Regions from separate parts of the Homo sapiens genome. Here all the other regions are linked to region 4. The links are contacts of gene promoters, found by promoter capture Hi-C in blood cells and fetal thymus (Javierre and others, 2016). All regions are on one chromosome and are shown on one strand. Each heading gives the region's core, a stretch centred on a gene start or on the middle of the fragment in contact. The rest is flanking DNA. Distances are from core to core; before and after follow the strand shown. Region 1 has its middle 3.5 kb from the start of LAMP3. Region 2 overlaps LAMP3 (lysosomal associated membrane protein 3). Region 3 overlaps YEATS2 (YEATS domain containing 2). Region 4 holds the start of MCF2L2 (MCF.2 cell line derived transforming sequence-like 2).

Evidence for each region. Contacts are between HindIII fragments. The CHiCAGO score rates a contact against its expected background, and 5 or more counts as called.
Region 1: a fragment that was not itself captured here is called in contact with the fragment with the promoter of MCF2L2 in region 4 in 5 of 17 cell types (M0 macrophages, M1 macrophages, erythroblasts and 2 more); the score reaches 10.9 in M0 macrophages.
Region 2: a contact is called between a fragment that was not itself captured here and the fragment with the promoter of MCF2L2 in region 4, in 8 of 17 cell types (M1 macrophages, M0 macrophages, M2 macrophages and 5 more). The highest score is 15.5, in M1 macrophages.
Region 3: a contact is called between a fragment that was not itself captured here and the fragment with the promoter of MCF2L2 in region 4, in 5 of 17 cell types (M1 macrophages, erythroblasts, activated CD4 T cells and 2 more). The highest score is 5.9, in M1 macrophages.

What each region holds. Positions count from the first base shown.
Region 1 is chr3:183,163,356-183,169,028 of GRCh38, forward strand. It overlaps a transcript of LAMP3 not described here. Among named protein-coding and RNA genes, the nearest start is that of LAMP3, 3.5 kb to the left of the region's middle. The HindIII fragment of the contact is 1,208 bases long and covers 1,514-2,721 here.
Region 2 is chr3:183,142,571-183,148,325 of GRCh38, forward strand. The region is part of intron 3 of LAMP3 (lysosomal associated membrane protein 3); the gene reads right to left. Among named protein-coding and RNA genes, the nearest start is that of LAMP3, 17 kb to the right of the region's middle. The HindIII fragment of the contact is 630 bases long and covers 952-1,581 here.
Region 3 is chr3:183,709,621-183,715,495 of GRCh38, forward strand. YEATS2 (YEATS domain containing 2) reads left to right here. Exons shown (of 31, transcript NM_018023.5): 2 at 5,524-5,642. The coding sequence starts at 5,543. Among named protein-coding and RNA genes, the nearest start is that of YEATS2, 15 kb to the left of the region's middle. The HindIII fragment of the contact is 4,440 bases long and covers 1,868-5,875 here.
Region 4 is chr3:183,426,337-183,432,047 of GRCh38, forward strand. It overlaps MCF2L2 (MCF.2 cell line derived transforming sequence-like 2), which reads right to left and starts at 2,283. Exons shown (of 30, transcript NM_015078.4): 1 at 1,566-2,283. The coding sequence starts at 1,641. RefSeq lists a silencer at 2,033-2,112. The HindIII fragment of the contact is 2,747 bases long and covers 1,554-4,300 here.

The DNA of each region.
Region 1 (5,673 bases), core at 868-3,367, 260 kb before region 4:
GCAGTGGCGGGATCTCGGCTCACTGCCCTGGTTCAAGCGATTCTCCTGCCGCAGCCTCCCGAGTAGCTGGGGTTACAGGCGCCCGCCACCACGCCCAGCTAATTTTTGTATTTTAGTAGAGACGGGGTTTCACCCTGTTGGCCAGGCTGGTCTCGATCTCCTGACCTTGTGATCCGCCCGCCTCGGCCTCCCAAAGTGTTGGGATTACAGGCGTGAGCCACTGCGCCCGGCCCAGGGTCTCCTCTTTTCTAACAGCTCGGGTACCTTTCTGGGAACCCAGAGACGCTTCTCAGCCGGGAGAAAGCCAGCCACTAGGCGAGCAGGAGCCTAAAAACCCCTAAGCACCCTGACTCCATGTCTTCCCAGGGAGTCTGCGGCAGCCGCGCTCCACGCCCAGGCCTCGCCAGGACCGCGGTTTGCGGGAAGCAACAGGAGCACAGCCCAGAGGCGCTAGGTCTGGCTGGGAGCTCGCGCTGCCGACTCCCCGGCGTGCGGCGTCGGGGAACCTCTAGGAGCCTTGGATTCTTCAGCTGTAAAACGGACATAATAATGCCCACTCCCAGTGTGTTTTTTTATTTTCTTTTTTCTTTTTCTTTCTTTGTTTTTGTTTGTTTGTTTTTGTTTTTGTTTTTGAGACAGGGTCTCACTCTGTCGCCCAGGCTGGAGGGCAATGGCGTGATCTCGGCTCACTGCAAACTTGGGTTCAGGCGATTCTCCTGCCTCAGCCTCCACAGTAGCTGGGATTACAGATGTGCGCCACCACGTCCGGCTAATTTTTTGTATTTTTAGTAGAGACCAGGTTTCACCGTGTTGGCCAAGCTGGTCTCAAACTCCTGACCCCAGGTGATCCGCCCGCCTCGGCCTTCCAAAGATCTGGGATTACAAGCGTGAGCCACTGTGCCTGGCCCCAGGTGGTTTTACAGACCAGAAAATCCTGGAACAAAAAACACACAATATCGTTTTTTTTTTTTTTTTGGAGTCAGGGTCTCGCTCTATCACCCAGGCTGGAGTGCAGTGGCGTGATCTCGGCTCACTGCAACTTCGACCTCCTGGCCTCAAGTGAGTCTCCCACCTTAGCCTCCTGAGTAGCTGGGACCAAAGGCGCGTGCCACCACGCCCAGCTATTTTATTTTATTTTATGTAGAGAGGAGGTCTCGCTGTGTTGCCCAGGCTGGTCTCGAGTTCCTGGCCTCAAATGATCCTCCTGCGTTAGCCAACCATTGGGATTACAGGCGTAAGCCACGGCCCACGGCTCAACAACGCTGACAGGCAACCTTTTAATGTCTTATCTCCTTCCTCTATTAATTGGATTGTCTGTCAAAACAACGATGTTTTGACAGGGCTTGAGTCCCAGTGGGGAATACACATTTAAGCAGTATATTAGGAGACCCTCCTTATCACTAGATTGAGGGCTTTCAGCCTAGCCTCAAATTATTTTCTGAAAAATAACTTTGGCTACAACTATTTTGTCTTACTATGTTGCTCCAAACACTAATCAAGTAAACTTAACCAAAGCTTGCAGTGTGTTTCAGAATGGAATTTTTATGGTGAAAAGTGAGGGTTAACTTGTGCCAGTCAACCTAGTTTCAGCAACTACCTGCTTTCTGATCTTTGAGACAGTTTATTCAAAAGACGATAATTAAGTGGGTATAGACTGTGTGCCAGGCACTCTTCTTATTCCATTTAAGCGCCATAGCCACTCTATATGGACACTGTTGTTATTATCGCTGCCCCATTTCGCAGATGGAGAAACTAAGCACAAAGAAGGGAGTTGCCCAGAGTCACTTAGATAATAAATACCGAAACCTGACCATAAATCTTGTCTGCCTTGAGAGTCTAGGATTTTAAGCACATAGCCGGGCGCAGTGGCTCACGCCTGTAATCCCAGCACTTTAGGAGGCCGAGGCGGGCGGATCACGAGGTCAGGAGATGGAGACCATCCTGGCTAACACAGTGAAACCCAGTTCTATTAAAAATATAAAAAAATTAGCCAGGCGTGGTGGCAGGTGCATGTAGTCCCAGCTACTCGGGAGGCTGAGGCAGGAGAATGGTGTGAACCCAGGAGGTGGAGCTTGCAGTGAGCGGAGATCGCGCCACTGCACTCCAGCCCGGGCGACAGAAGGAGACTCCGTCTCAAAAAAAAAAAAATAAATAAAATAAAGCTGCTCCTCTTACCCTGGAAATTCCAAGGGATTTAGGAGCTCTGTTTCAGGAACCAGGGTCAAAGACCAAGTATTAAAACAAAAGATTCTCCTAGAACTCTGGCATATAAGGATTTTAGGAGCTCTGTCTTAGAAACTGGGACAGAGACCAAAGATATATTATTATATCGCAGTATCATAGTTTATTATTTTCAAAAAACGTTTTCTGGCTGGTACAGTGGTTCATGCCTATAATCCAAGCACTTTGGGAGGCCAAGGTGGGAGGGTCACTTGAGGCCAGAAGTTCAAGTCCAGCCTGGGCAACACAGGGAGACCCTGCCACTATTAAAAATTTTTTAAATTAGCTGGGCATGGTGGCACATGCCTGTAGTCCCAGCTACTTGGGAGGCTGAAGCAGGAGGATTGCTTGAGCCTGAGAGGTCAAGACTGTAGTGAGCTGCGATCAAGCGACTGCACTCTAGCCTGGGTGACAAAGCCAGACCCTGTGTCTAAAAAAAAGAAAAGAAGAGGAAAAAAAAAGGTTTTTATTTCAACTAAGTTGTTGGATTTATTAGCATAAAGCTTTTCATAACAATCCCTTGTCTTACAATATCTGTAGTATAGGTAGTGATGTCACTTCTTTTATTACTAATATTAATAATTTGTATTTTCTCTCTTATTTCCCTGCTAATATTAATAATTTGTATTTTCTCTCTTTTTTCCCTGATAAGTTTGGCTGGAGGTTGATCAATTCTATTCATGTTTTCAAGAAAAAAAAAAAAATTTCATTTCATCGAGTTCCTTCATTGTTCTTATGTTTTCTGTTTTATTCATTTCTACCTGATCTTTATTATTTTCTTTCTTCTACTTAACTTGTGTTTTATTTGCTCCTCTTTCAATAGTTTTCAAAGATGGAACTTGCCTGGGATATCCCAGCACTTTAGGAGGCTGAGGTGGGAGGATCACCTGAGGTCAGGAGTTCAAGACCAGCCTGGCCAACATGGTGAAACTCCGTCTCTACTAAAAATACAAAAATTAGCTGGGTGTGGTGGTGGGCACCTGTGATCCCAGCTACTCGGGAGGCTGAGGCAGGAGAATCGCTTGAACCCGGGAGGTGGAGGTTACAGTGAGCTGAGATCACGCCACTGCACTCCAGCCTGGGTGACAGGAGCTAGACTCTGTCTCAAAAAAAAAAAAAGAAAAAAAAAAAGATGGAAGTTGAGGCCAGTGGTATAAAATCTTTCTTCATCTCTAATAAACAGGTTTACTGTTATGAACGTCCCTCTAATTACTACTTTAGTTGGATCCCACAAGTTTAATATGTTTTCATTTTCATATAATTAGAAAGACTTCCTAATTTCCTTTTGCTATCTCCTCGACTCATGGTTATTTAAAATAGCATTATTTCATTTCCAAACATATAGTTTTTCAGATATCTTTCTTTTATTGATTTTTAATTCCACTGTGGTTGAAAACATAATTATGGACTTAAATCTTACAAATTTATTGATATTTGTTTTTTGACCAAGACTATGGTTGGTTACATTAGTTTTCAGGACTGACATAACAAAGTGCCACAGACTGGGTAATTAAACCACAGACATTTGCTTTCTTATAATTCTGGAAACCAGACATGTGAGATCAAAGTGTCAGCCGGGTTGGTTTTTTCTTTTTCCTTTTTTTTTTTTTTTTTTGAGACAGAGTCTCTTTCTGTCACCCAGGCTGGGATGCAGTGGTGTGATCTCGGCTTACTGCAAATTCTGCCTCCCAGGCTCAAGCGATTCTCCTGCCTCAGCCTCCCGAGTAGCTGGGATTACAGGTGCCTCTCACTGCACCTGGCTAATTTTTGTATTTTTAGTAGAGACGGGGTTTCACCATGTTGGCCAGGTTGATCTCAAACTCCTGATCTCAGGTAATACACCCGCCTCGGCCTCCCAAAGTACTGAGATTACAGGCGTGAGCCACTGCACCCGGCCCGGGTTAGTTCTTTCTAAGGCCTCTCTCCTTGGCTAGTAGACACCTTTGTTTCACATGGTCATCCCTCTGTGCATGCCTTTGTCTGTCCTAATCTCCTCTTCTTATAAGGACATTAGTCAGGTAGGATTAGTGCCTACTCTTTGAACTCGTTTTACCTCTTAAAGACCCTATCTCCGAATATAGTCACATTCTGAGATACTTGGGGTTAAGACTTGTATTAGTCCATTTTCACGCTGCTCATAAAGACATACCTGAGACTGGGAAGAAAAAGAGGTTTAATTGGACAATTCCACATGGCTGGGGAGGCCTCAGAATCATGGTGGGAGGCGAAAGGGACTTTTTACATGGTGGCGGCAAGAGAAAATGAGGAAGAAGCAAAAGCAGAAACCCCTGATAGATAAGCCCACCAGATATCATGAGATTTATTCACTGTCATGAGAACAGCACGGGAAAGACCAGCCCCCATGAATACATTACCTCTTCCTTGGTCCCCCCCTCCCCACAATATGTGGGGATTCTGGGAGATACAATTAAAATTGAGATTTGAGTGGGGACACAGCCAAACCATATCATTCTGTCCCTGGTCCTTCCAAATCTCATGTCCTCACATTTCAAAACCAATCATGCCTTTCCAATAGTCCCTCAAAGTCTTAACTCATTTCAGCATTAACCTAAAAGTCCACAGTCCAAAGTCTCATCTGAGACAAGGCCTTCCGCCTATGAGCCTGTACAATCAAAAGCAAGCTAGTTAGTTCCTAGATACAATGGGGGTACAGGTATTGGGTAAATAAAGCCATTCCAAATGGGAGAAATTGGCCAAAACAAAGGGGTTACAGGGCCCATGCAAGTCTGAAATCCAGTGAGGGAGTCAAATTTTAAAGCTCCAAAATGATCTCCTTTGACTCCAGGTCTTACATCCAGGTCACGCTAATGCAAAAGGTAGGTTTCCATGGTCTTGGGCAGCTCCACCCCTGTGGCTTTGCAGGGTACAGCCTCCCTCCAGGCTGCTTTCATGGGCTGGTGTTGAGTGTCTGCAGCTTTTCCAGGCACCCAGTGCAAGCTGTCAGTGGATCTACCATTCTGGGGTTTGGAGGACAAAGGCCCTCTTCTCACAGCTGCACTAGGCAGTGCCCCGATAGGGACTCTGTGTGGGGGCTCTGATCCCACATTTCCCTTCTGCACTGCCCTAAGAGGTTCTCCTTGAGGGCCCCACAGCTTCCACCCTCTGAACCATAGCCCAAGCTATGCATTGGCCCCTTTCAGCCATGGCTGGAGCAGCTGGGACAGAGGGCACCAAGTCACTAGGCTGCACACAACATGGGGACCCTGGGCCTGCCCCACAAAACCCCTTTTTCCTCCTGGGCCTCCAAGCCTGTGATGGGAGAGGCTGCTGTGAAGGTCTCTGACATGGCCTTGGAGACATTTCCCCATGGTCTTGGGGATTCACATTAGGCTTCTTGCTACTTATGCAAATTTCTGCAACCAGCTTGAATTTCTCCCCAGAAAATGGGTTTTTCTTTTCTGTCACATAGTCCGGCTGCAAATTTTCCAAACT
Region 2 (5,755 bases), core at 17-2,516, 280 kb before region 4:
GGCTCAGAAGAGTTAAGCATCTACCGCAGATGCATGTAGTTTGTAGGTGAGACAAAGCAAGATCCTGCCCTACATTTTCCTCCATGGGATGTGTGGGTATAGAACAAAAATTCATTATGTGAGAATTTACTTTCACATTCCCTGAAATGCAGCTGAAACCTATAACCATTGATGGGAAGCAGGACTGGCTACATAATGAATTTTTGGGGCTTAGTAAAAAATGAAAGTGCCGGGCCATGTGTTCAAAAATCAAGAATTTCATGGGGCAACAGCAAAGCATGAAAACAAGTCTGAGCCCTTCCGGATGCACAGGCAGAACACCTGTGAACCCGTCCCTGATGGGCAGGGCCACTGCTGTTCCACAAGAATCTGCGCTTTCTAGGGCTAATCAAAAAATGAGGCCTTCCGTAAGCAGGGTGCTCACATTCACTCTGAGTTCATCTTAAGGACACACAGGACAGAGTCTGGAAGCTGTACTCAGAATTCTTTCCATTTTGACTGAGTCAAAATTAGTGAAACATTGACTAGGACTAAGCTGATGTCTAGCTTTTTTTTTGAGTTGGGGTCTCCCTCTGTCGCCCAGGCTGGTGTGCAGTGGCAAGATCTTGGCTCACTGCAGCCTCAACCTGCTGGGCTCAAGTGATCCTCCTGCCTGAGCCTCCCAAGTAGCTGGGACTACAAGCACGTGGCACCACAGCCAGCTAATTTAAAAAAAATTTTTTTATAGAGATGGGATCTCACTATGGTGCCCAGGCTAGTCTTGAACTCCTGACCTCAAGAGATCTTCCCTACTTGACCTCTCAAGGTGTTGGGTTGACAAGGAATGAGGCTTGAGGTATAAGCTACTATGTCTAGCCATGATGTCTATCTTTAGAGTAAAGGAAAAGTATCTGTTAGGTGGATTCATGTAAACAAAAGGACAGGGGGATATTTAGTTTTCTTAAGATTACAAGCTTGACTTGACATGATCATACTTCAATTGTCCTACACATCTCTTCTGACTCACCCTTTCCATATGGTATTTAAGCCCTGGGTCTCAGGGTTAATGGCGTGGGGATATACCATCTTGTCTCATCACCATTCAAGACAGACATGGCTTCTGTTCATACATCCCTATTAAGTGTCTCTTTCCAAGAAAAAAAAAGATTCCAAGTTTTACACAATTTATGCTATGGAATGAGGCTTAGACAATTGTACCACTTTATTCTGTAGAATTGTAGTGTTACTGAATATTCTTAAAGGAAATAAAATCGTCTTTGGTAAACTTTTTTCCAGAAATATTTTAGGCTCTGTGGTCCTTTGTTAATCCGTCAAGGAACCTTAACATCCTCCTTAGCAAAACTGTGGGTCCACCAACATGTCTACCTTTCTGCAGACATACGGGGGTCTGGCACCAACCAGCCCAATTCATCCTGCCCAGGACGCCAGCATGCCAATAACCATGGGGTCCTAAGGTCCCCCTGTCCACTTCTGCAAAACACACCGTGGAAGTTTCATAGTCCCAGCTGTTCAGGATGTGGATTTTGTCTTCAGCATCAATCATGTCCTTTTCGCTCAGCATTGTTGTGACTAAATCAAGAAAGCTTTGTTCTGGACATAGCAAAAGGAACCTGTGATCTACTTTTTGGCACTTTGACCCAGAGTTCTCTGCAAAATTTAGATTTTCTCCTTCATTGATACATTTGTTTATCAAACATTGCTAAAGATATACTATATGCGAAGTCGGGGTGAGCACTAGAGAAGAGACGTGAAGGAGCCATAGACTTTGCCTTGGGGATGGCAAAATGTGTGACAAGTGCATTGATGAAGTTTGGGGAACAATGAATAGAGTTTCAGGGAACTAAGAGGAGGAAGTCTCTCATTTTACCTGAAGTGGAAGTGGGGAAGGGGGAATTTCACAGGGTGATGATATTTGAGTTATTTTAAGGATGGATGCTAAAGGAGCTGAGGGGTGGGAGGGGCCTTCTAGGCAGAGGGAAAAGTACCAGGGGAAAAAGAGCATGGAAAGTACAGATCACTTGGGGAGTTCTAAGTGTGCACTGTGAGGGTGTCAACACTTGAACACTGGTCACAGTCCTCAGAAGCCCAGCTCGTAGGCCAAGAGGGTTCCAAATGCCCCTCAAAGGCTCTGGAGACCAGTTTGAGCAACATAATGAAAACCTGTCTCTAGAAAAAAATACACAAATTAGCTGGGCATGGTGGCATGTACCTGTAGTCCCAGCTACTCAGGAGACTGAGAGGTGGAGGATCACTTGAGTCCAGGAGGCTGAGGCTGCAGTGAGCCTGATCGTGCTACCACACTTCAGCCTGGGTGACAGAGGGAGGCCCTTTCTCAAAAAACAAAAAAAGCTCTGGGGAAACAACAGGTGGGTCTGCAGCATTGATTCCAGGACCTCAGTCGGCCAGTGCACTGCCTGACCCTCGCACCTCTCCTCTCTTGATGGTTGATTTCACGAGCCAGGGCTGGAGACCTAGAGCTGCCCGGCCAAAGGGGTGGAGGAGAAAGGGATAGTCCTGTGCACAGAATGAAGTTACTGCAGAATGTTTTAAAAGCAACTATCCCACCAGGAAGGATGTTGTAGGGAGGTGTGGGGAGAGATGCATGTGATCTTGAACTGGAAGGGTCTGAACAACTTTCAGCATGTCACCCTAACCAAATGAGACACTGACAGGGAAAGGTTTTCAGTTCTTTAAAAAATGAAACTGCGGGAAAAAAAGAAAGGAAATCCACCTCTCCTGACCCCTCTAGGGGCCAAATACCACGCTGAACACTTTTACATTCTTTAGCTCAGCACACTCTCATGGCAGCCCAGCAAAATAAGCACTCGTTGGCTCCATCTTATAGAAGAGGAACTGAGGCTCAGAGATCATGAGCAGCCTGTCCATGGTCACAAAGCGAATGATATGGATAATTTGCCTTGATTGAACAACAAGGTTAAGTGACTGATTTTTCTTTATGTTGTTGTCATTGGTAGTATTTCAATTTAAAAAACTACAAATTGGGCTGGGCACAGTGGCTCACACCTGTAATCCCAGCACTTTGGGAGGCCGAGGTTGGGCGGATCAGCTGAGGTCAGGACTTCGAGATCAGCCTGGCCAACATGGCGAAACCCCGTCTCTACTAAAAAATACAAAAATGAGCAGGGTGTGGTGGTGCACACCTGTAATCCCAGCTACTCGAGAGGCTGAGGCAGGAGAATCACTTGAACCCAGGAGGCAGAGTTTGCAGTGAGCCGAAATCATGTCATTGCACTCCAGCCTGGGCGACAAGAGCAAAACCTGGTCTCAAAAACAAACAAACAAACAAAACCCTACAGATTGAAAGCGGGAACTATAGCCTATATTTCTGTTATTTTTCTTTCATAGCCAAGCTCATTGTTAGGGACAAAGTAGGTGCTCAGTAAATTCTTACTAATAAACGAGTTGATAAATCAGGCCTAATCAACATCCATTTATCATTCTACAACTTAGCTCTCATAACATCTATTATATTATAATGAATAAACTCACATTTTCTAAGGTTCTCTTTTTCTCTAGAGCTGTGGTTTTCAACTGCACATGATTTTTGCCTCCTAGGAGACATTTGACAATGTCTGGAGACATTTTGAGTTGTCAGACTGGGGTGGGCAGTTGCTCCTGACATCTTGGAGATAGAGGCCAGAAATGCTGCTGAGCATTTTTCAAGGCACAAGGTAGTCCCCACACAAAGACTTATCTGGCCTCAAATGTTAATACTGTTGCTGTTGAGAAGTGCTGGTTTAGAAAGCAGCAACATTTCAAAAGCGACTGACTGAATGGTTGAGTCCATTTCTCTTTTGGAAAAATCTAGAAGGCTTTCTTACCTAAATACACTTCATACAATACACCCATTAGGGCAGAAGTCACAGGGTCAGAATCCACAGGCCAAATCTGGCCTTCAGTTGTATGTTTTTTGGCCAGCATGGTGCTCAAATTTTTTTTTTTTTTTTTTTTTTGAGACAGAGTTTTGCTCTTGTTGCCCAGGCTGGAGTGCAATGGCACAATCTCGGCTCACTGCAACTTCCGTCTCCTGGGTTCAAGCGATTCTCCTGCCTCAGCCTCCCTAGTAGCTGGGATTACAGGAATGCGCCACCACGTCCAGCTAATTTTTGTATTTTTAGTAGAGACAGGGTCTTGCCATGTTGGCCAGGCTGGTCTTGAACTCTTGGCCTCAGGTGATCCACCCACCTCGGCCTCCCAAAGTGCTGGGATTACAGGTGTGAGCCACTGTGCCCGGCCCTCAAATTTTTAAAAATGTGTTGCCAACATTAAAAAAAGTGCTTTTCTGGAAAGATCTAGATTTCTGCCTTATCTGGAACAATCAGAAGATCTGGCAATACCACCCTCTCCTTACCACCTGATTGAGGGGACATGTAAAATATTGAGCAACTGTGCCTGTTATTCCAGCACTTTGGGAGGCCGAGGCAGGTGGATCACGAGGTCAGGAGATCGAGACCATCCTGGCTAACATGGTGAAACCCCATCTCTACTAAAAATACAAAAAATTAGCCGGGCGTGGTGGCATGCACCTGTAGTCCCAGCTACTCGGGGGACTGAGGCAAGAGAATCGCTTGAACCCAAGAGGCGGAGGTTGCAGTGAGCCAAGATCGTGTCACTGCACTCCAGCCTGGGCAACAGAGTGAGACCCCGTCTAAAAACAAAGAAAAAAAAAATATTGAACAACTGGCACAGAAGGGAAGTCACTGAGAATGGACATTGGACCATCCCAAATAAATGCCATAAAAGACACTGATAATCCCCGGGGCTAGACACCAGCCCTGCCATTTGCACCATCTGCAGAGCTAACTCCTAGGGAGATGAGCACTCTCCTGTCCCTCCCTTTTGTCTCCCAATTTCTGAGTCCTTCTCAGTTGCTTCATTACTTTGTGCTTACTTTAATATTTTTCTTATTAGATTGAATGGGAATTGAAATCTTTCTTGTCTTTAATTTTTGATGAAGACATATTTTGATCTTCATCAAAACTGGTAAAATAAAAATTTAGGACTGCTTGTTTCAATGAAAACAATTTTTTTTTTTTTACTAGCTTGCTTTGCTCATTAGGTTATATGCCTAGCACCTGTAATTCTTGAATTCAGGGTCCCTGTTTTGGCTTAAACAAGCTCTTATTGATTGATGTCTTTTAGAAACGGAGTCTCACTCTATCACCCAGGCTGGAGTGCAACGGCACAATCATAGCTCATTGCAGCCTTGACCTCTTAGGCTCAAGCAATCATCCCACCTCAGCTTGCATGTGGTAGCTGGGACCACAGGTACACGTCACCATGGCTAGCTAATTTTTAAATTTTTTGTAGAGATAGGGTCTTGCTATGTTGCCCAGGCTGATCTCAAACTCCCGGGTTCATGCAATCATTCCACCTTGGCTTCTGACAGTCCTGGGATTACAGGTGTGAGTCACCACTCCAGCCAAGTTCTTTTTTAAAATGCAGAAATTCAAAGGTGCCAAGAACATACATTGAGGAAAGGACAGTGTCTTCAATAAATGGTGCTAGGAAAACTGGGTATCTATATGCAGAACAATGAAACTAGACTCCTATCTCTTGCAATGTACAGCAATCACATCAAAATGGATTAAGGACTTAAATCTAAGGCATCAAACTTTGAAACCACTAAAAGAAATCACTGGGAAACTCTCCAGGACGTTGGTCTGGGCAAAGATTCCTTGAGTAATACGCCAAACCACAGGCAACCAAAACAAAACTGGACAAATGGGATTAC
Region 3 (5,875 bases), core at 2,838-5,337, 290 kb after region 4:
CTCTGCATCTTGCCCACATTTACTTTTTATAATGAGGCTGTTTTAATGAGATAAATTTTTTTTTTTTTTTTTTTTGAGACAGAGTCTTGCTCTGTCACCCAGGCTGGAGTGCAGTGGCGTGATCTCGGCTCACTGCAAGCTCCACCTTCCGGGTTCACGCCATTCTCCTGCCTTAGCCTCCGGAGTAGCTAGGACTACAGGTGCCCGCCACCACGCCCGGCTAATTTTTTGTATTTTTTTTAGTAGAGACGGGGTTTCCCCATGTTAGCCAGGATGGTCTTCATCTCCTGACCTTGTGATCCGCCCACCTCGGCCTCCCAAAGTGCTGGGATTACAGGCGTGAGCCACCATGCCTGACCCGAGATAAAAAGTTTAAATTGGAGAAATGGATGACAGTAGTCTTATTTTAGTCGCAGCGTTACATTTATTTCCGTATTCAGTTTTTGTCTCAGAGTATAGAGAAAATTCTTTCTCACAGTCAAATTGTATATGATAACAGATTTTTTTCCTAGCAGTTCCTAGTACCATCTCAGTATTTTCAATTTCAGCTGATTCAGAAGCTATAGAGGATTAGCTGGACATTTTGTTTCCAAGTTGAATTGACCATATCTAACAACTGCTCATGTTTCCTTTTCATAAAATCTACAAGTCAGACAAGAAGAGTCCAGAAGGTAATGTTATCATTGGTCATTTGTTACACATTCTGTTCACTTATTTATTATATCATCATGAGAGCATGCCTCAGCAGATGTGCCTAGTCTTAGCTAGCTAGCAGTTACTTGCATGTGACATGTGCACATTACACATTATTATTCTTGTGAGACAGAAGCAGACCTGGATTATTTTTAAATGCCCAGTATAGAGCTTAATCCTCTTAAATGTGTTTATAAGAAGCTCAAATATATGCCCACATGCAACAAGAAAAGCTTTATTCTAAAGGCTGCATAAAAAATGAATTATCTTGGCAGCACAAATGAACTCATTGTTGGTTTCTTCCTTTCTGCCCACCCCCTCCCCAAATTCCTCTCTTTTCTCTTCCTAGTCTTCCAGTTTTACACCAAAAGTCAAAGAGAGGGTTTTTTTTTTAAGTCCCTTAAGTGAGGATAAAATAAAAATAACTTTTCTTCAAGGATCCCCAGCCATTTTAGTGGGAGCCACCGTTATTCTTGAGATTACTTGGAAGGTAGGATAAGAATATACAGATTATGAAGTCTGTAGAATGGATAAGTGAGGATGATGCTGGAGGGGGACTCATCTTTGTAGATAATCTCCTATGACTCTTGGCAAACTGTGGAAGACAGGTGCCTGATGAGGAAGTAGTATGGTACAAGGACAAGTTTAGGTATCTGCTGGGCTATATCCACCTCTGATTCTAGGTTCATGTGTAATTAGGTGTTTTTAGATTCCTATCTGCATTAAGGAAGAATAAATTAAGTTTATTTTTTTTTAAAGTTGTCTTTTTTATGTAACAGCCCAAGATTTTCTGAGGCTGTCTAAAATTAATTGCAGACCAAATGGAGAAGGCTGAAGAAACAAGACCTTACTTTTACTTTTTAAAAGCTTTAAACAGCTGGGCGCAGTGGCTCATGCCTGTAATCCCAGCACTTTGGGAGGCCAAGGCGGGCGGATCACGAGGTCAGGAGATTGAGACCATCCTGGCTAACACAGTAAAACCCCGTCTCCACAAAAATACAAAAAAAAAATCAGCCGGGCGTGGTGGAGGGCACCTGTAGTCCCAGCTACTCGGGAGGCTGAGGCAGGAGAATGGCGTGAACCCGGGAGGTGGAGCTTGCAGTGAGCTGAGATCGCGCCACTGCACTCCAGCCTGGGAGACAGCGAGACTCTGTCTCAAAAAAAAAAAAAAAAAAGCTTTAAACATAAAACATAATAGTTGGGTTCTGGGCCTGTCCAAAAATAGTCATTTATATTCTGAATTGTAGCAGGTAACGGATGAATATGAACAAACATTAAATGGCTTGATTCATGATGTTTATAAATTCTGGGGGTTTTAGAATATTTTTAAGATTAGTGATATAACAGCAGATAACAGCTGTAGGAAAAGTGTTCTCTCAGATGTGGGACTTCCATATGTAACATTACATAATGAGCCACTCTCCTAGCTGAGTCAAGTGAGTCTGTTTCTGAGATGAGTGAAAGAACTGGACTAAGAGCTGAGGGACTTTTAAATAGTGTGTTTTTTTTTTTTCTTTGTTTTTTGAGATGGAGTCTTGCTTTGTCACCCAGGCTGGAGTGCAATGGCATGATCTCGGCTCACTGCAGCCTCCATTTCCCGGGTTCAAGCGATTCTCCTGCCTCAGCCTCCTGAGTAGCTGGGATTACAGGCTCACATGACCACGTCTGGCTAATTTTTGTATTTTTAGTAGAGATGGATTTTCACCATGTTGGCTAGGCTGGTCTCGAACTCCTGACCTCATGATCCGCCTACCTTGCCCTCCCAAAGTGCTGGGATTACAGGCATGAGCCACTGCACCCGGCCTAAATTGTTATTTTTGTTTTAACTTTGAGTGAATACAAAATGAGTATTTTTGAGTTAGCATTTTATGTTCTTTTATTTTATTTTATTTTATTTTATTTTATTTTATTTTTTGAGACAGAGTCTCACCCTGTCTCCCAGGCTGGAGTGCAGTGGTACAATCTCGGCTCACTGCAACCTGCCTTCTGGGTTCAAGCGATTCTCATGCCTCAGCGTCCTGAGTAGCTGGGATTACTGGCATGAGCCACCATGCCCAGCTAATTTTTTTGTATTTTTAGTAGAGACGAGGTTTCACCATGTTGGCCAGCCTGGTCTTGAACTCCTGACCTCAGGTGATCCACCTGCCTGAGCCTCCTAGAGTGGTGGGATTACAGGCGTGAGTTACCGCAGCCAGCCTAATTTTATTTTAAAACATGTTGTTACCTCAGTAATTCTGCCTCTGGCTAGGGAATCTTCCTTAGTGGTAGAACAGAGATTTGGAAATCAGAGAGCTATTCTGGTCTCTTTCATAGATTAACACTGTAAGGGATAATCTAACCACCCTGGACCTGTTTCCTTATCTTAATCAATAGATCCAGGCTGCGAAGAAAGGGAGCCACCAGCCACAAGTAGTTATTGAGCCTTAGGATTGTGGCTAATACTAATACAAATTTTTTTTTTTTTTCGAGAGAGTTTTGCTCTTGTTGCCCAGGCCGGAGTGCAGTGGTGTGATCTTGGCTCGCTGCAACCTCTGCCTCCTGGATTCAAGTGATTCTCCTGCCTTAGCCTCACAAGTAGCTGGGATTACAGGAGCCCGCCACCAGGCCCAGCTAATTTTTGTATTTTTAGTGGAGACGGGGTTTCACCATGTTGGCCAGGCTGGTCTGGAACCCCTGACCTCTAATGATCTGCCTGCCTCAGCCTCCTAATGTGCTGGGATTACAGGCGTGAGCCACCTTGCCTGTACATGGCCTGTACAGGCCGCTAATACAAATTAAGATGTCCTGTAAGTGTAAAATACACACCAGATTTTAAAAACTTGGTAAAAATATAACGTAAAATCTAATTGCTGATTTATTTATATCAATTACATTGTTGGGGTGATAATATTTTAGATATATTGGTTAGGTAAAATATATTGTTAAAATTGGTTTCACCCATTTCACTTCCCTTTTTCAAACGTGGCTGTGGCTGGGCACGGTGGCTCACACCTGTAATCCCAGAACTTTGGGAGGCCAAGGCAGGTGGATCATGAGGTCAGGAGTTTGAGACTAGCCTGGCCAACAAGGTGAAACCTTGTCTATACAGAAATTACAGAAATGAGCTGGGTGTGGTGGTGCATGCCTGTAATCTTAGCTACTCAGGAGGCTGAGGCAGGAGAATTGCTTGAACCCGGGAGGCGGAGGCTGCAGTGAGCCGAGATTGCACCACTGCACTCCAGCCTGGGCAATAGAGTGAGACTCCGTCTCAATCAATCAATCAATCAATAAGAAACCTGGCAGCTAGAAAATTTAAATTCTGTACGTGGCTCATGTTATATTTTTATTGGACAGCACTGGTCTGGATGATATTTCTGAAACTGACTCATGAAATATGTATCATTGCTTAATGAAGCACTTTGGAAGAGGAGCACTGTCCAATAAACTCGTGCAGTGATGTGAATGTTTCGTATCTACACTGAACAATGTAGTTGCTACTAGCTACGGTGACTCTCGAGCACTAATTTTTTTGAGACGGAGTATTGCTCTGTCGCCCACACTGGCGTGCAGTGGCACGATCTCGGCTCACTGCAACCGCTGCCTCCCGGGTTCAAGCAATTCTCCTGCCTCAGCTCCTGAGTAGCTGGGACTGCAGGTGCCCACCATTATGCCCAGCTAATTTTTGTAGTTTTAGTAGAGATGGGGTTTCACCATACTGGCCAGGCTGGTCTCGAACTCCTGACCTCGTGATCCATCCACCTTTGCTTCCCAAAGTGCTGGGATTACAGGCATGAGCGACCACACCCGGCCCATAATTTTAAATTTTTTTAAATTTTAATTTAAACAGCCACATAAGGCTAGTGGTTAATGTACTGAGACAGTAAAGGTCTAGAGGATTTATGGGATTTTTTTTTTTTTTTTGAGATGGAGTCTCGCTCTGTCTCCCAGGCTGGAGTGCAGTGGCGCGATCTCAGCTCACTGCAAGCTCTGCCTCCTGGGTTCACGCCATTTTCCTGCCTCAATCTCCCGAGTAGCTGGGACTACAGGTGCCTGCCACCATGCCCGTCTTTTTTTTTTGTATTTTTAGTAGAGACGGGTTTTCACCGTGTTATCCAGGATGGTCTCAATCTCCTGACCTCGTGATCCGCCCACCTCGGCCTCCCAAAGTGCTGGGATTACAGGCGTGAGCCACCGTGCCCGGCCGGGATTTTTTTTTTAATGGGATTGTTTTATTCAAAGACTTGTGTATGTGGGGCTTGTTTACCGTATTGCAGACTTGTTAATTAGTTTAATATAAGTCTATAGATTTGTGTTTATTGTAATAATGATCAGTAATAGTGATACCTGCTAAGTACCAGAGAAAGGATCTGTATAATCAATTATTTATTGAGCCTTTAACTATGTTGCTTATATTTTCTAATATGCTGAATGCTTAGTGAATTCTAAGACACTGTGTGGGCTAACCATGTTTTCATCAAAGTCTGGTTCCTTTCCTTTCCTTATGAGGGCTCTTCCATGAAAGCCAGGCTCCTTTTGAAAAGTCTGAACAATGTGCTACTTTGTTCAAGGATTTTTCTCTTGAAAGGGAAACCCATGCTTGTTAACAGATGATTATGATTTCTTTTTTTTTTTTGGTGGAAACTTTTAAACTTAGGCTTTTGGCCTTAAAAGAAATATGTATATGTGTGTATATACACATACCCACAGACTTGCAAGTACCAGTATTAATGTAATATTTATTTATTTATTTTGTTTGTACACATATATTTGTAAGTACTGGTATGCAGTGTTACTACAACCCAACTATTTAACTGAATAATTAAAAATTATTAATTTATCATTGCTTCACAGTGAAGAACTGAATGTCATCATGTCTGGAATCAAGCGAACCATCAAAGAAACCGACCCTGATTACGAGGATGTATCTGTGGCCCTTCCAAATAAGCGGCATAAAGCAATTGAGAATTCAGGTAGAAATCCTGCCTTAGGAAATTATTTCTTTATTGACATATGCCTCCGCTAGAAAACTTACAGGAACTAGAATGAAATGAATTTCCACTGTTATGTATAATTTGAAGGGGTTCGTGAGAGAGATTAGCTAAGGGATCTGTTTAATAGTAATACACCATGTGTGCTGTAAAAAGTGGAAGAAGATCTGGCAGGAACATGATCAAGCAGACAGTGAAAGCGAGACAAACTGTGA
Region 4 (5,711 bases), core at 1,033-3,532:
GGGAGGCTTCGCCCTGAGAGAGGCCCAGTAACCCACCAAAGATCTTTAGTGGCGTGACAGAGGGACCAGGGATATGTCTAATAACTGAAATGTCTGTATAATCACAGTGTACACAGTATTTCTACCCAAATTATCTTACTTATCTTCACAAGTAGCCTTTGAGCTGAGTGGGAAAGTACTATTAAAATTCCTATTTTTCAACCTGAGGTCGAATGACTTGTCCAGGGAAAGATTCAAATCCAGACGGTCACACCCCGAGTCCACTGCTCTTTCTCTATACCACAACTTCATGCCTGTGCTGGGTTTTAGCACAATCATTTCAACTTTCATCATATTGCAGATTCCGAATTCTGTTTCATTACAAGTTCTTTTTCCTCTTATTTCACACTGCCTTCAGCAATATTTCACATTCAACCTTACCTGGTAGGATCCTACTGATCTTTTGTCGTAAAAGTTCAGTGCCCACAATTGGCACCAGAAACTTTTTTCTAAACTTGAATTATCAAAACTGGGCCTTCCCATATAAATCATCTTTACAAAGTATGTCCTCACAAGTGTATCATTTGAGATGTGCACGATTATTACAGCAAACACGTTGGACTAATTGAGGCAACATTTAACATGCAAGTACCAAGAAAGCAGCTTTCACAAATGTGTAGAAAACCAAGGCAAATAGTTCCTGGCTTTATCAATAAAAGCTGATTTGCATTCATGGGAGGACCTCCAAGCACAGTCAGCAACAGAGAAAATGATCCCGATAATTCCAGTTGCCCACATCCAGAGGTTCTGAACCTGAATGTGTGTCTTTACTGAGGGAGGTCCAGGGAAGGCCAAGGGGAAGAAAGTGCTAAGAAAAAACTGACTGGGAACTGTCTCAATGTCCTCTTGCCCTTACTTAGTCTGTGGGGCCTGACGTTCCATCACAACCCTTATTTCAGGAGCAAGCAATGCATGTTTTGCTCCTCTTTTCAACTCAGGGAAGAAGATTAAAATTGCTCAGTCTCCTTGGCTTGCAGAGATTTCTCGCGGGGATCATCAGGGGTGTGCTTAACCCTCCAGGCAGCACAGTAAAACAGGCCTAGCGGCCGAGCTGCGCAGGGGCGCTCCCATGTAACCTGCCTCTCCCTGCACTTTCTTATAAACAAGCCTTCAGTGGCGTGGCAATCATTTCTGCTGAAAAGCACTGGCATTCGTTCCTCTTATGCCCTCTCCTTTCTCACTATCCCCAAAACCAGAACATAACTTCCCACCCACCCTACTCCCGTCAGAAGCAGCTAACGGATGGTAACAGCCCAGCAGCCCTCGGTTTGGAGCTCAACGGACTCGGCAACCACCTGGTGAAGGCACCAGCCTCGGCCCCCCGACCCCCACCAGCGGCGCGCCCCAGGGATGCCCCCCGCTGGGCACCGCAGGCAGGACCCAGAGCAGCGAGGCCCAGATGCCGGGCAACCCCCCAGGAAGCGCGCTGCCCCGGGGCAGCGGGTGAGGCCAGGAGCCAGATGAAGCCCAGAGACCATCCTCACCCGCCATTAATAAAACGCAGGAAAAATTAAAGCTTCGTTTACCGACATGAGTGATCACTGTGGCCAGTCGCCGGGTGAGCTCCTGGGGAGGCATCTCTTCTTTTAAGCAAGACAGCATTTCACTGAAAAACCATTCCGTATAAATAAAGCCAAACAAAACTGTTTCTACCGCTGCGGTGGATGATTTTTTAAAGGCATCTCCGCCCAAGGATGCTCTGCCCTCGCCCTCTTCCTGGCTCTCCAGGCAAGAAACGAGAGTCCCTCGCAGCCTAGGCCAGCTCTCCCTCGCCACGCCCCGCGGGGGCTCCCGTGACAGACCAAGTCTGGCGCTTTCCCAGCGTCGCAGCTGGACCGAGAGAGGAGCGGCCGTTCTGCAAAAGGAAGCAAGTCGCCAATCTCGCCGGAACCGCGCCCCGGCTCCTCCGGCCGGGCGAGCTCCGGGGCTTCCAGAATCGCGGTCCCGGCCGCCAGGTTTCCGGCGCCGCCTCCAGGGACTGTAGAGTGAGGGATGCTCCGCCAGGTGCAGGGGAGGCGGCAGGTGGCCGTGGCTTCTCTGCGCCGCCGGCCCCACGCCCCAGCGCCCACCTCGTCCAGCCCACGGGTGGCGCCCGGGGCTCTCGGGGAGGCACGCACGCTCCCAAGCGCCGCTCGTTTTGGGGTCGGGAACGCTGCGCACCTTTCCCTGCGGGGAGCCCGCGCTCCACCCCCGGAGTGGAGCTCCGGTCCTTACTCGGAACCGTGGGGCGGGGAGACAGTGACTGAGGCGCTCCAGTCGCACCGGGGTCCGGATCATCAGACGCGCGCCGGCCAGGTCTCCGCCCCTCCTTCTTCCGCGCCGGGTGTCTGCGGAGGAGCCGCGGAGAGAAGGGGGCTGGCCCGGAGAGCTGCCGCCATCCGGCAGGACCCGGAGCGGGAGGCTGGGTGAGGCGCCGCTGCTTGCCCCACCTCCTGACCCCGGGGGCGGCTGGCGTGTGTTTTCCCCCACTTGGGGTTGTTCCACGCAGTTCTTGACCTCCGCTGGCCACACCTGCACTGGGAGCCCGGCGCCCGGGCTGCGCTCCGACAAGGCTGAGCACGCGTGGGCGCGCTCACCCCCTATGTGGGCGTTTTCCTTCGTGCAGCTGCGCCCTTGCCTCTGCTCCGTCTGTCACCTGTCAGGCACGCCAGTGCTACCTTCTGGAGGGGCTGTGGCACATCCTCCATGCTGGTCCTCCTCCCCATCAGCCCATTATCCCGTGGTTTCCCTAGTTGGGCCCAGACACTTTCTGACTGGCAGCAAAAGACTAACCCCAGTTCAGCAGAGCGCTACGGGAAACGCCTGAGCAAATGCGAATTCGGTCAGGTTGTCCCCCAATCCTTTCTACAGCGGGAGTCCCTGAATACTCAGCAGGCGGAATGGCGGGACCACCCAGGCGGATGTTCTCAGCCATCTCTTTCCTCTTCGATATGTAAAAAGCCAAGCCGCAAACACCCTGGATCCAAATTCTAGGAGTAGCCACCCATCACAGGGGGCTGAGGGTATTTTTTTAATGCTTTCTCTTTTCTTCTTTTTTTTGGAGACTGAGTCTGGCTCTGTCGCCCAGGCTGGAGTGCAATGGCGCGATCTCAGCTCACTGCAAGCTCCGCCTCCCGGGTTCACGCCATTCTCCTGCCTCAGCCTCCCGAGTAGCTGGGACTACAGGCGCCCGCCACCACGCCCGGCTAATTTTTTGTATTTTTTAGTAGAGATGGGGTTTGTTTCACCGTGTTAGCCAAGGATGGTCTCGATCTCCTGACCTCGTGATCCGCCCACCTTGGCCTCCCAAAGTGCTGGGATTACAGGCGTGAGCCACCGCGCCCAGCCCTTTTTAATGCTTTCTCTAACAATTGTGGGCTGTGATTGAGAAGCGAGGTCAGTTCACCTGTGTCATGAGATTTGTGGAGAGGTTCTTCCCCCTGTGAAGTTTGGGCACTTTGCACTCTGCCTGCAAAACAGAGCAAGGATTTTCTTTTTCTTTTCTTTCTTTTTTTTTTTTTTCGTTTTTAGAGATGGAGTTTCACCATATTGCCCAGGCTGGTCTCAAACACATGGACTCAAGTGATCATGCCCGGCCACTGAGCAACCATTTTCACAACCACCTTTTGCAAGAGATTCAAAAAAGGGTTAAAAGGCCGGGCGTAGTGGCCCACGCCTGTAATCCCAGCACTTTGGGAGACCAAGGCGAGCGGATCACAAGGTCAGGCATTCAAGACCAGCCTGGCCAACATAGTGAAACCCCATTTTACTAAAAATACAAAAATTAGCTGGGTATGATGTCACGCACCTGTAATCCCAGCTACTCGGGAGGCTGAGGCAGGAGAATTGCTTGAACCTAGGAGGCGGAGGTTGCAGTGAGCCAAGACCGTGCCATTGCACTCCAGCCTGGGCAACAGAATGGGACTCCATCTCAAAAAAAAAAAAAAAAGAAAGGTTAAAGATCCGCAGGAGGGGAGGCAGCTTTTGAATTATGTTTCCGGCGTTCAAGGGTCACAAGAATTTTCAAGGAACCAAATGAGATGTTTCCTACTGATAGTAGTCAGAACCCTGGTGCCCAGTCACAGCCAACTGTGAGTTTTGGTCAGCAGAAACCAACGCCTAGTAAAGAAGACAATGATGTGGGGTATGTTGGACTTGGAGTGTCAGAGCCACTTTGAAGATCCAGTAACCTCAGCTTCCTGGCTTAGGCCGGGTCCTTATGGGTGAGAAACATGAAAAGGAAGAAGAGAAGGAATGGAGGAGAGGAAAAGGAGGGAGGAGAAGCTTATGATTAAGAATGAGAACAAAAAGAAAACAGAAAGGAAATAAATCACACTCAGAGTGCTGCCCACATCTTTGGTACTTTCACAGTCCTCAAAGGTTTCCATGGAGATAAATGAGCTCAAGTTATGGTGAGATGTAGCAGGCAGTGCCTATCCTCAGAAACTAATTCTGCTCTTATCTCTGACACTTACTCTCTCAGGGCCTTCACTGCTTCCCCTGGGCAGTAAGGAAGTGGGTCTGTGATCTCCAAGTTCCCTTTTCCAGCTCTGAAATCCTATAACTGGAATTAAGAAGAAATGATCGGCTGGGTGCATTATCTCACACCTGTAATCCCAGCACTTTGAGAGGCCGAGGTGGGTGGGTTATCTGAGATTAGGAGTTCGAAACCAGCCTGGCCAACATGACGAAACCCCATCTCTACTAAAAATACAAAAATTAGCCGGGCACGGTGGTGGGCGCCTGTAATCCCAGCTACTCAGGAGGCTGAGGCAGGAGAATCGCTTGAACCCAGGAGGCAGAGGTTGCAGTGAGCCAATATAGCACCACTGCACTCCAGCCTGGGTGACAGAGTGAGACTCCATCTCAAAGAAAAAAAGAAGAAGAAGAAGAAGAAATGACCACATAGTGTTCAATAGCTCATACCTCCTTGTTCTTCCAAGAAAATGGTCATTGTCTCCATTGTTCTCATGAACACTGACATTCTTTCTGTCTTCTTTCTTCCCACCCTCCCACCTTCCCTGCCTGTTTTTCTCCTTCCTAATTATGATCTCTTATATTATGCCTCTTTGTGCTGTGGTTTCAATGTGTTCCCCAAAGTTCATGTGTTGGAAACTCAATCCTCAATGCAACAGCATTGAGAAAGAAGACCTTTAAGAGGTGATTAGGTCATAAGGGCTTTGTCCCGAGTTAATGCTGTTATCTCTGGAGTAGGTTCCTGATAAAAGGAGGAGTTGGTCCCCTTCTCCCTTCCTCTCACCCATGTGATGCCTTCCACCACGTTATGATGCAGCATGAAGGCTCCCAGCAGGTACACCCCTCGATCTTAGACTTCCCAGCCTCCAACACCAGGAGCCAAAGCAATTTCTGTTGATTATAAATTGCCCAGCCCATGGTTTTCTGTTAGCGCAGCACAAAACAGACTAAGACATCTCAGCTGGCAAAATCAGAGAAACAAGCTAGAAAAGCCTGCTTCCTTCTCCAGTGAACCAATTAACAATCACTCACATCTACTGAACATCCGCTATGGTTGTGATAGGCAGTGTCAGGTACAGCAACTACCACCACCATATAGCAAGTGACCGTTCTGTGTCTAGTATGATGTTAGACATTTTACAAACACCATTGAGGCCTCACAACAACACTCTAAAGGCTTTAGCCTCATTTTGCAGATACCACTGTAAAGGACCAAA